2 separate regions of the Homo sapiens genome follow, and region 1 is linked to region 2. Evidence: promoter capture Hi-C in human tissues and cell types (Jung and others, 2019). All regions are on one chromosome and are shown on one strand. Each heading gives the region's core, a stretch centred on a gene start or on the middle of the fragment in contact. The rest is flanking DNA. Distances are from core to core; before and after follow the strand shown. Region 1 has its middle 38 kb from the start of ZP4. Region 2 holds the start of ZP4 (zona pellucida glycoprotein 4).

The links. Contacts are between HindIII fragments. The study calls those that stand out against the background at their distance.
Region 1: a fragment that was not itself captured here is called in contact with the fragment with the promoter of ZP4 in region 2 in 1 of the 25 tissues and cell types used here (liver).

Annotation. Positions count from the first base shown.
Region 1 is chr1:237,849,847-237,855,105 of GRCh38, forward strand. No RefSeq gene overlaps it. Among named protein-coding and RNA genes, the nearest start is that of ZP4, 38 kb to the right of the region's middle. RefSeq lists an enhancer at 4,538-5,099. The HindIII fragment of the contact is 4,306 bases long and covers 766-5,071 here.
Region 2 is chr1:237,889,116-237,893,657 of GRCh38, forward strand. It overlaps ZP4 (zona pellucida glycoprotein 4), which reads right to left and starts at 1,807. Exons shown (of 12, transcript NM_021186.5): 1 at 1,346-1,807; 2 at 940-1,061; 3 at 752-854. The coding sequence starts at 1,520. It also overlaps the pseudogene LOC100130331. The HindIII fragment of the contact is 12,268 bases long and covers 1-4,542 here.

The DNA of each region.
Region 1 (5,259 bases), core at 1,669-4,168, 38 kb before region 2:
CTTTTTTTAACCTCAACTACTTCTTACATTCTTGCCAATGCATCAAAGGTTTTTAATAAGTTGATAGTTCTCTGTGGTAGTGTCTACTAAAGGTTATCCTTTAGATGCCATGTGATCCAGAAATTCCAACATTAGGTAGATATACCCAAGTGTATATAGGTACAACAAAAGATGCATGTAATAATTTTCATAGGTGTGTTATTCGTAATAGCTAAACACTGCAGGAAAACATCCTACAATTGAGCAGACAAGTAAACTCTTTTCATGTGCTATATTCATACGATAGAATGCTATACACCAATAAAAACCAAACGACTGCACATAAAACAATATGGATGAGTCTCACAGTGGAGCGAAAGATGTCAGATGTAACAAAAGAAATATTGTGTGATTCTCAACAGGCAAAAATTACCTTTAAAGTCAGCTTGGTGGAAGGAGGGGTTTGTGACTAGAAGCACAGAGAAGCATAGGCTGGCTTTTGAAATGCCAGTAGGGTTACATTTGTTGATTTGAGTGGTTGCTATACAGGTGTGTTCATTTGTGATAACCTGACTATGCAATTATTTGCACATGTTTCTGTATGTATGTTAGACTTTAATAAAAACAGTTATTTAAACCAAAGTTGCTTTTTGTATTTTTAGTATTTTTGTTTTCCCTGGGAAGATGATCAGGGCTGTCACCTACCATTACATACCATTACACCAAGAACAAATTCCCTCTCTACGGTTCTGTGTATAGATTTGTAAATATTACTTTAATGAAAGTTTTTGTTTTGCTTTTTTTTTTTTTTGAGATGGAGTCTCGCTCCATTGCCCAGGTTGGAGTGCAGTGGCATGATCTTGGCCCACTGCAACCTCCACCTCCTGGGTTCAAACAATTCTCCTGCCTCAGCCTCCCGAGTAGCTGGGATTACAGGTGTGCACCACCACACCTGGCTAATTTTTGTATTTTCAGTATAGATGGGGTTTCACCATGTTTGCCAGGCTGGTCACAAACTCCTGACCTCAGGTGATCCACCCACCTTGGCCTCTCAAAGTGCTGGGATTACAGGTGTGAGCCACTGTGCCAAGCCAGAAAGTTTTTTTGAGCAAACCTTTTTTATGAGAAGGTGAACTCCTGAAAGTCAATGTTACCACTTTATTCTGCTTGTATCCAGCAATGCTTAGAATAATTTTCAATAAGTTATAGATGCTCAATATATGTTAAAGGAACAAACGACTTGCCATTTGAGTTTGTGATGCAAGTAGAATTTCCAGCTCTATCTTACAAAAATGTTTTCTGGTCGACTGGTGTTTTGGCTCTCTTGCCAGGCACCACCCATTGGAATGGCCTTGGTTTACTCTTCATGAGGCTGTGGATTAACTCCTAAGTATCTTGGGGCTTTTCCTTATAAAGACACGACCATAAAAACTGGGTCACAGTTCTCTTGGAATTCTGCGTTCTACTGAAGTTGTTTCAGTGTTGGTAGTGGAGCTTTGCAACCTAATTAACACCATGGGAAAAGGCATTATCGGCCAGGGAAAAGCAATTCAACAGAGCTAAAGATACATAGCATGACTACAGAGGAGACAGCAGGGGGCGCCAGTGGAGCACTCGTGAGGCTGCTTTGACATCACTTCCAGTATCTATCAGCATTCTGTTCCTAATATAATTATTATACAACCGTGTTGCACCACATTGAGACAAGTTGACTGCTTACTTGAAGGAGATGGTAAATGAATATGGACAGGATATCTCCTTGCCACAACTCTGATTTTATTGTTTCTCAGCTCATATTTTAAAACTTTTCTGAAGTGGCTTCATTCACTCATCTCCTATAAGCATAATTTTCTCCCCCACCCTTTTGCCCTAAAAAAAAGTAAAAATCAACACTGTGATGACTACCTGAATGTTGAATACCTTGGAGTTTAATTTATTCATAAATTTGGGGGTTTGCTGCTACTTCATTAAAGTATATTTCCTCTAATTTTTTAAGTCTATCTTGAAGTTAGATACTAATTTTTGGTTGGGAAAAGAGGGAAGGGCTAAATTGCAAGTTTTATGTACTCTCTCCATAGCTGTTTGGATTATTCTGGTAGATATTCCATTTGATTATCCATCAAAGTACTGAAGAAAGGAGGTGGCTTGTCTTGGTGGCAGCTGAAGATTGTTCATGTTATGATATTCACACTTCAAACTGCATCTCAGTCGTATTAGTAATAAGCAATAGAGCAGAGACCTCAAAGACTTAGCATTGCATTAGGTATTTCAGGTGTGATTCTAGGTATCACTACTTAATATATTCATTTAGCAGAGAGTTACTAAATACCTTTCTATTGGACACCAGGCTGGGTACTTTGGAAACGGGGGTCAACAGAATATGGCACATTTCCTAACCCATTTAAATCTCAGTTTCCATCTCTGTAGAATGATGATATTATCTTACCTCATTGCATGTCATGAGAATTAAATGGTAAAGCTACCAATATTAGTATGTACGCGAACAATGCTCGGTAAATATTAGTCTTTGCCATACAGACTTTTTAGTAGTCTGTATCCATGTTTCAAACATGGTAAATCAAATACATTGATTCTCCTTGGTGCTTTTAGTTGATTTAGTAGTTAAACATTTTGCAAAATCTAATTATGGTTAGGGTTTGAGATTACATTCTAGCTGTCTTCACAATGGGCTTGAAATAAATGGTGTGTGTTCGAGATGACGCTTTCCTTTGGCACAGGAAGTTTATGGTCTTTTCTATTCATTTATCATTTTACTTGCTTCCTGGAAACCGATAACCTCTAAAAGCTTCTCTTTTGTTCCTTAACTGGAATTTCTCTTCCATATTATTTGCATGTCTTCCACCTAATGTACCCAAATCAATTATGAAGCAATTATTTTTAAAATGTCCCTTATGAGAATGTAAAGAAGGAAATGGATCACAGTTTAAATATGTTAGCTGTGGCTCATGCCTGTAATCCCAGCACTTTGGGAGGCCAAGGCAGGTGGATCACCTGAGGTTGGGGTTCGAGACCAGCCTGGCCAATATGGTGAAACCCCATCTCTACTAAAAATACAAAAAATTAGCTCGACGTGGTGGCAGGCAACTGTAATCCCAGTTACTCAAGAGGCTGAGGCAAGAGAATTGCTTGAACCTCGGAGACAGAGGTTGCAATGAGCCAAGATCATGCCACTGCACTCCAGCCTGGGTAACACAGCAAGACTCTATCTCAAAAAATAATAATAAATAAAAGTGTTGGTAGGCTGCTTTTCTTTTTAGATACATCCCAAAGGACCTTCCCTCCCTGCATCTTTTTCTTGTTTCTGTCAGGCTCATCCTAAACTTTTTGCCACATCTTCAACTCCAGAGCTGCCAGTGTTAAACTTGAGTCACTATTGGATCAGGGAATAAAATGTCTTTCTTTTCTTATCCATAATCATTTTTATTGAGTTGCAGCCAAATATATCCACAGCTTGCAGTTACATCCCTCATTCATACAAATGTCCTTTTAGCATAACCTTCTTGTCAATATATTGCTTCCAGCCTCTAAAGTAAACTTTCTGAATTGCCATTGTTTCTTAATGCTTTGACCTTGGCTATCCTCCATCAACACTTTACCTTCTGTCTTCGCTTCTTGTACTATTTAAACAGCATTAGTCTCACAAATGTTCCTTTCTAATTTCTGTCCTACCACCAACCTTGTGTCTTCAATGCATGCCACCTGCCTCACTGAAACATCCATTCAGTGAAGAACCTCCTGCCTTTCTCACACCCCCACCAACACCACACAGCATTATCTAGAATATCAACTTCAACCAAGCTGTCATTGTCTTATAATAGAAACAGCATAGAGAGATACTATAAAGCTTATCCTCCTCCAGAAATTGCAATACATTTGAACTTTTTTTATGGCTTTAGACTGAATCATTTGAAGCTCATACCCCCACGACATTGTCCTAATATGTTGCACTCTTCCTAAAAACATCCTCAGGGGTAGAGAAATCACAGCTGATGGAACTACAACCATGTGCCTATAGTTTATTAGGTTACTAGCTCCTATTTCTTCCAGGCTAGAGGATTGTTTTGCCTCAGGTCAATACACAGTGCTCTTTTGTTAGCTCAGATTGTGAAGGTCATGTTTTCTCTACATCTGAATATGAACCTTCTCCTGTGTTAGCATCGGTGTGATTTTTAACCAGAGTCAAGTAATTGATTTCTGAAGACACCCTGGCCTTTACATACTTGCATGTCTTACTTCATGTAATTTTCTCTTGCTTTTCAAGTACATGATTAGCCACAATGTGATAAGTATATAAATCAACTGCCTGCCCTCTAGGACTTCTCACATTTAAATGTAGACCTAAATTACTTTTGTTACACTGAAAAGATTTGAAAATGCTCGGTTGAATCACATTCAAGCCACTTCAGAAGGCTGCAATAATTTCCTACATTGCCGAAGGAAATTATTCTCCCAAATACATTCCGGTTTGTTTGTTTGTTTGCGATAGAGTCTTGCCTTGTCGTCCGGGCTGGAGTGCAGTGGCACGATCTCAGCCCACTGCAACCTCCGCCTCCCAGATTCAAGTGATTATCTTGCCTCGGCCTCCCGAGTAGCTGGGAGCCATCACACCCAGCTAATTTTTAGTAGAGACGGGGTTTCACCATGTTGGCCAGGCTGGTCTCGAACTCCTGACCTCAACTGATTTGCCTGCCTTGGCCTCCCAAAGTGCTAAGATTACAGGCGTGAGCCACACACCCCGGCCAACATTCTGTTTTGTAGAAAGCATTCCTTCACTACCTCCATCACCCAGGTTTTGAAATCATCCAGCTTCCCACTGTGAAGGGCATTCAGAGTCAATGGCTGAAGTTTCAGACAGTCACTTGCTTCCATGGAACCGTGGCAAAATGCGTATCGTGGTTTAAGCAAACTTTCCTAATGCTTTATGAGAGGGACATCTCACCACTGTTAGCCTTAATAAGACATACATTCCTCCCCAACTGATGACTCCTCTTAATGGTTCAAATGTGTGCCACATACTTGAGAAAGCAGGTTCAAATGATTTTGGAAAATTTTTCAATGTTCTTTGAAATCATTGATAACACCCAGAGTAGCATTAAACACTGTGGGGAATCACTTGTTATCTTTCTAAACTTCAGCTGGAAACGAGTAGATCAGATAGAAGACCTAAGAAAGGGTTGCGCCACTTGTGAAATAATAGAAAATAAAAAGGGCTCATAGTATATGTGTCGATTGCATTTCCAGTGCCCTGTTCTAATCGCT
Region 2 (4,542 bases), core at 557-3,056:
AGACCTGGGTCCTAGTCTCAGTGCACATCTAGCTCTGTGGAGGTATTTTTCCAAGTTCCCTTGCTAGCTTCAGTTTTATTTCCTATCATTCTCCCCATGGGTGAAAAGCTCCTGGTTCTGGGAGAGTTCTTTGAATCCCAGCTCAGTCATTCACCAGTGATAGGCCCTTGGGAAAACTTCCTGGCAAGAGATAGGTTGTATTTTTTTTTTTTTTTTTTTTGAGACAGGGTTTCGCTCTTGTTGCCCAGGCTGTAGTGCAAGGGCACGATCTCAGCTCACCACAACCTCAGCCTCCCAGGTTCAAGCGATTCTCCTGCCTCAGCCTCCCGAGTAGCTGGGATTACAGGCATGTACCACCACACCCGGCTGATTGTGTGTTTTTAGTAGAGATGGGGTTTCTCCATGTTGGTCAGGCTGGACTCCAACTCCCGACCTGATCCACCTGCCTCAGCCTCCCAAAGTGCTGTGATTACAGGTGTGAGCCACTGTGCCTGGCCAGCAGTAGTATTTGCAGCACTATGTTAGGGTTAGGGAAGGTAACACCTGAAGTGCTTACCCACAGTGCCTTGGCATTGAGGAGTCTCAATTGGTAGTTATCCTAAGGATTGCCCATGGAGGTGAGAGTTGGGACATGATCCTTCCTTCATTAGTGTCAGGTGTCACTGCACAGAGCAGGTCAGAGAGGACCAAGAGTACTTTCACACCCCACCCCCACCACCCCCACAAGACCCTGAGAGCTTCCAGCCTTTACCTAGAAGATCCATAGGACACTTGAGCAGCTTCCTCTCTGTAACCACCTTGTGTTCAGCCGCGCCTGCTCCTTCAACTCCAACTGGCATGATGTAGTGGGAGTCCTGGAGAGACAGGCCCTTGGGGGTCAGCCTGGATGGTAGCATGAGGCGCTTCACACAGTCTCCCTGGCCATTGGGTCATACTCACCCACTCAGTGACATAGCAGCTGCTATAGGTTGCCTCCAACACCACGGAGCTGCCTGGACCTTTTCTTATCCAGGTGCCACAGTCGGAGTCATTCTGCAGCTCGTGCAGCAGCCCTTGGTTGTCTGGAGGGGTGGGGAAGAGGTGAGAAAACACAGCGGTCAGTCTCCAGTGCCAGAAAGGATAGTCAGCCTTGCCATTAGACCCCAAGGAGCAACTGTCAATAAGAGGAACAAGAGGGAAATCAGATTCAGATCAGATGTAGTTATAACTTAGACTATTTCTTTTGCAGAAAGATGCAACAGGGCTCAGAAGGTGAAAGTATCAATACGGGAAGATAGGGAGACATCTTAGGTAGTAGAGGAGACATATCATTGCTTGGCTAAGCAAGGCAAGTCATCAAACTTACCCCAAGCTATTAGTACAGGAGGAGACGTTGCCTCCTGGTTGAGGTTTACAGCAAACTGGAAGCTCCACGGCCCACAGTGGAGCACACTGGAATAATCTGGTGCCTCAGGCTTATGCTGGCCACTCACAGCAAGAGATAATGAAACACACAGCAAAACGCACCGCAGCAGCCACATAATGCTACCAGGAGTTCCTGCCGGCTGCAGACTCTCCGCCTCCTCTCCCAAGAGCCGAGGGTCTGCCTGCCCAGATTCCTTTATATACAGAAGTCAGGCTTGTTTTCAGCTGCACATCTTTGTGACACTCAGGTGGGATGCCTTCAGAAAGGGGAATTCCTCTAGCCTCATTTGCTTTGGGGCACAGTCTGCAGCTGCCTCACATTAAATACCACAATCCAGGCAGACTTCAGAGCCCAAGAAAAATGTAGTAACTTTTAGCTAACAGAAAGGAAGGAAAGAAAGCTTCCTCAGGGTTGCTCAACATAGCATTTGTCCCACCAGTTTATTGAACTTATTGACTTCAGAAGACCTCCCTCTAGAATTTTGCACATTTGGGTGTGAAACTACCATCTATGAACTATGGGGTCTGGGTACGTTACAAACTCTCTGAATCTTGGTTTTCTCATCTGTAAAATGGGAATGCTATCTCCTGGCAGTGGTGTGCTTGAGGATTAAGCAAGAGATTCTATGTCAGGTGCCTGGCACAGTGCTTGGCCAAGCAGTGAGTGCTCAGTCAACATTGTCGGGTGAGAGTTGGGGCCCTTGAGAAGCCTTGTCACCTTCTCCATCCATTCTAGAAAAGTTTCTGTACGATTAGAGCCTGTCTTGAAATTCTAGAAAAAAATCTAAACTTATTTCCTGAGAAAGGTTGATTTTGAACCCTTTCCTGGTCCTTAGAGGGAATCCTACCACAGCAATCTTTCAACAAATTCCAAAGTGGTTCATTGCCATAACTGTCCTACAGTGTTTCCCCACAGGATCTGGGGGAAATGTGGATTAGGCCATGAATTCCTCAAACTGGTTCTGCCTCTTACAGCTATTTGACAATTTTATCTTTCGGCTGTGTTTCAGGCATATTTCATAAAGATGTCAGGGTTTCTTGCTTGCTTTCTACATTTTTGTTTTCCACATAAACTACAAGTTATATACTTTGGTCACTCTTTAAGCTAGAGTGTCAGACCAGATTGTAGAGAAATTCTAAGAGATTTGGGGATAAATGGATACATTCCCCACTGGAGAGGCAAGAGCATGGAAACTTGTCTTCTGCAGTCTGCCACCAATATTCCCAAATTGTACCCTGATTGTATTTAGACTGATATTTTTCGGTTGACTAAAAATTGTAGTCAAAGCACTGAGAATGTGTAACTAGGTATCTCTAGTTCTCTTCAACTCATCACAGAGGACAAATAAGTATGTGTCTTCCTGGGAAAATTGGTGGCCCTTTTAACCACATGATGAAAAATGACATTGAAGGAAAGCTGGACTCTGCCCTCAAAGACAGATGTGGCTTCCCTGACACCGTCTACCTGGATTAGGTGCTCACCACTGGGTTATTACATGCCATTTACTCACAGGATTTGCCAGGTTGGATTGTAATGACCTCTTTCTTATTCAGTTTGCCACTAGAAGCACGTGAGGCCAGGGACTTTTTTATTTGTCACTGCATCCTGCGTGCCTTGGATGTATGTACTCAGTGTTCTCTGAGTAAAGACTGAATCAATGAATATGCTTTCATTAGTGGCCATGTCCTAGGGCTAACCCCCTTGAAAATGTAGTTTCCAAACCTCACCGGTACAAATTCATTTCCTTTATGATGAGCTCAAACTCATAACCCTTAGGTATTTTTCCTTCAAGTAAATATCATGTGATTGCACATGTAAGAAAGAATCTGAGGATTTGACTCATGCAAGATGTCTCAGGAGTTAAAAGGCCAGTCTCCTGACTAGACTTACTAATATTGCTTTATGCTGAGACCAGCTCAGTCGGGGAGACCCTAACCCAGGGATGCTAGAGGAATAAAGACACACACACACACACAAATATAGAGGTGTAGAGTGGGAAATCAGGGGTCTCACAGCCTTCAGAGCTGAGAGCCTCGAACAGAGATTTACCCACATATTTACTGACAGCAAGCCAGTGATAAGCATTGTTTCTATAGATTATAGATTAACTAAAAGTCTTCCTTATGGGAAACAAAGGGATGGGCTGAAATAAAGGGATGAGCTCTGGCTAGTTATCTGCAGCAGGAGCATGTCCTTAAGGCACAGATCACTCATGCTATTTGTGGTTTAAGAACACTTTTAAGCGGTTTTCCATCCTGGGTGGGTCTGGGGTTCCTTGCCCTTATTCCGGTAGACCCATAACCTTGCAGCGTGGGCATCATGGCCATCACGACCATCACGAACATGTCACAGTGCTGCAGAGATTTTGTTTATGGCCAGTTTTGGGGCCAGCTTATGGCCAGATTTTGGGGGGCCTGTTCCCAACAGCTTTATAAAGTGGTGAAAAGTCAAGGAGCGTAACTTCCTTTGCTCATACTTGGAGGCAATATAGTATAGTATATCATGTGAGTTTTGACAATGGGTGGACTTGGGTACAAATTCTGACTGTTACTCTGCAACCTCTGTCAATGTATTAACCTCTTTCTCTCAGTTACAGTTTTTATATCTGTAAAATAGGGATAATAACATGGACAGTATTATTACAACAGACGGTTAGATGAAATAATGTATGTACAATGCTTGTTGCATAATTGCTACATTGTCACTAACATCAACAGGACCAGCCTGGGAGATAAAGGTGAGATGGGTGGCAAATGGAAAGCAAATGCCAAGCAGTGCACTCATTGGATCTGCAGGGAGTCTGAGGAACAGCCTATACTCATGAGGCTGCATTCCCAAATGAGGTCCTGTGTTTACATAATGAAGTTGAAAAATCACACAAGCCTGGAACTATGTGGAGCTATCTTGAAGTCCACCTAGGATCACACCCATCTCTCTGATGCTGCAGAGGGTCAAAGATGGATGCCAAGATAATGCAGGCAGGTCTGGGGTTAGGTAATGTTATGCTCATTCCTCTGCTGAATCTTCCAAGAACATCATCATTTAATTTCGGGATGAGAAAATGCACTGATAATGTGTGATCCACCTCGAGGAGCCCCAGGCTTAACAGAAAAAACATCCTATCCACTATTATCACA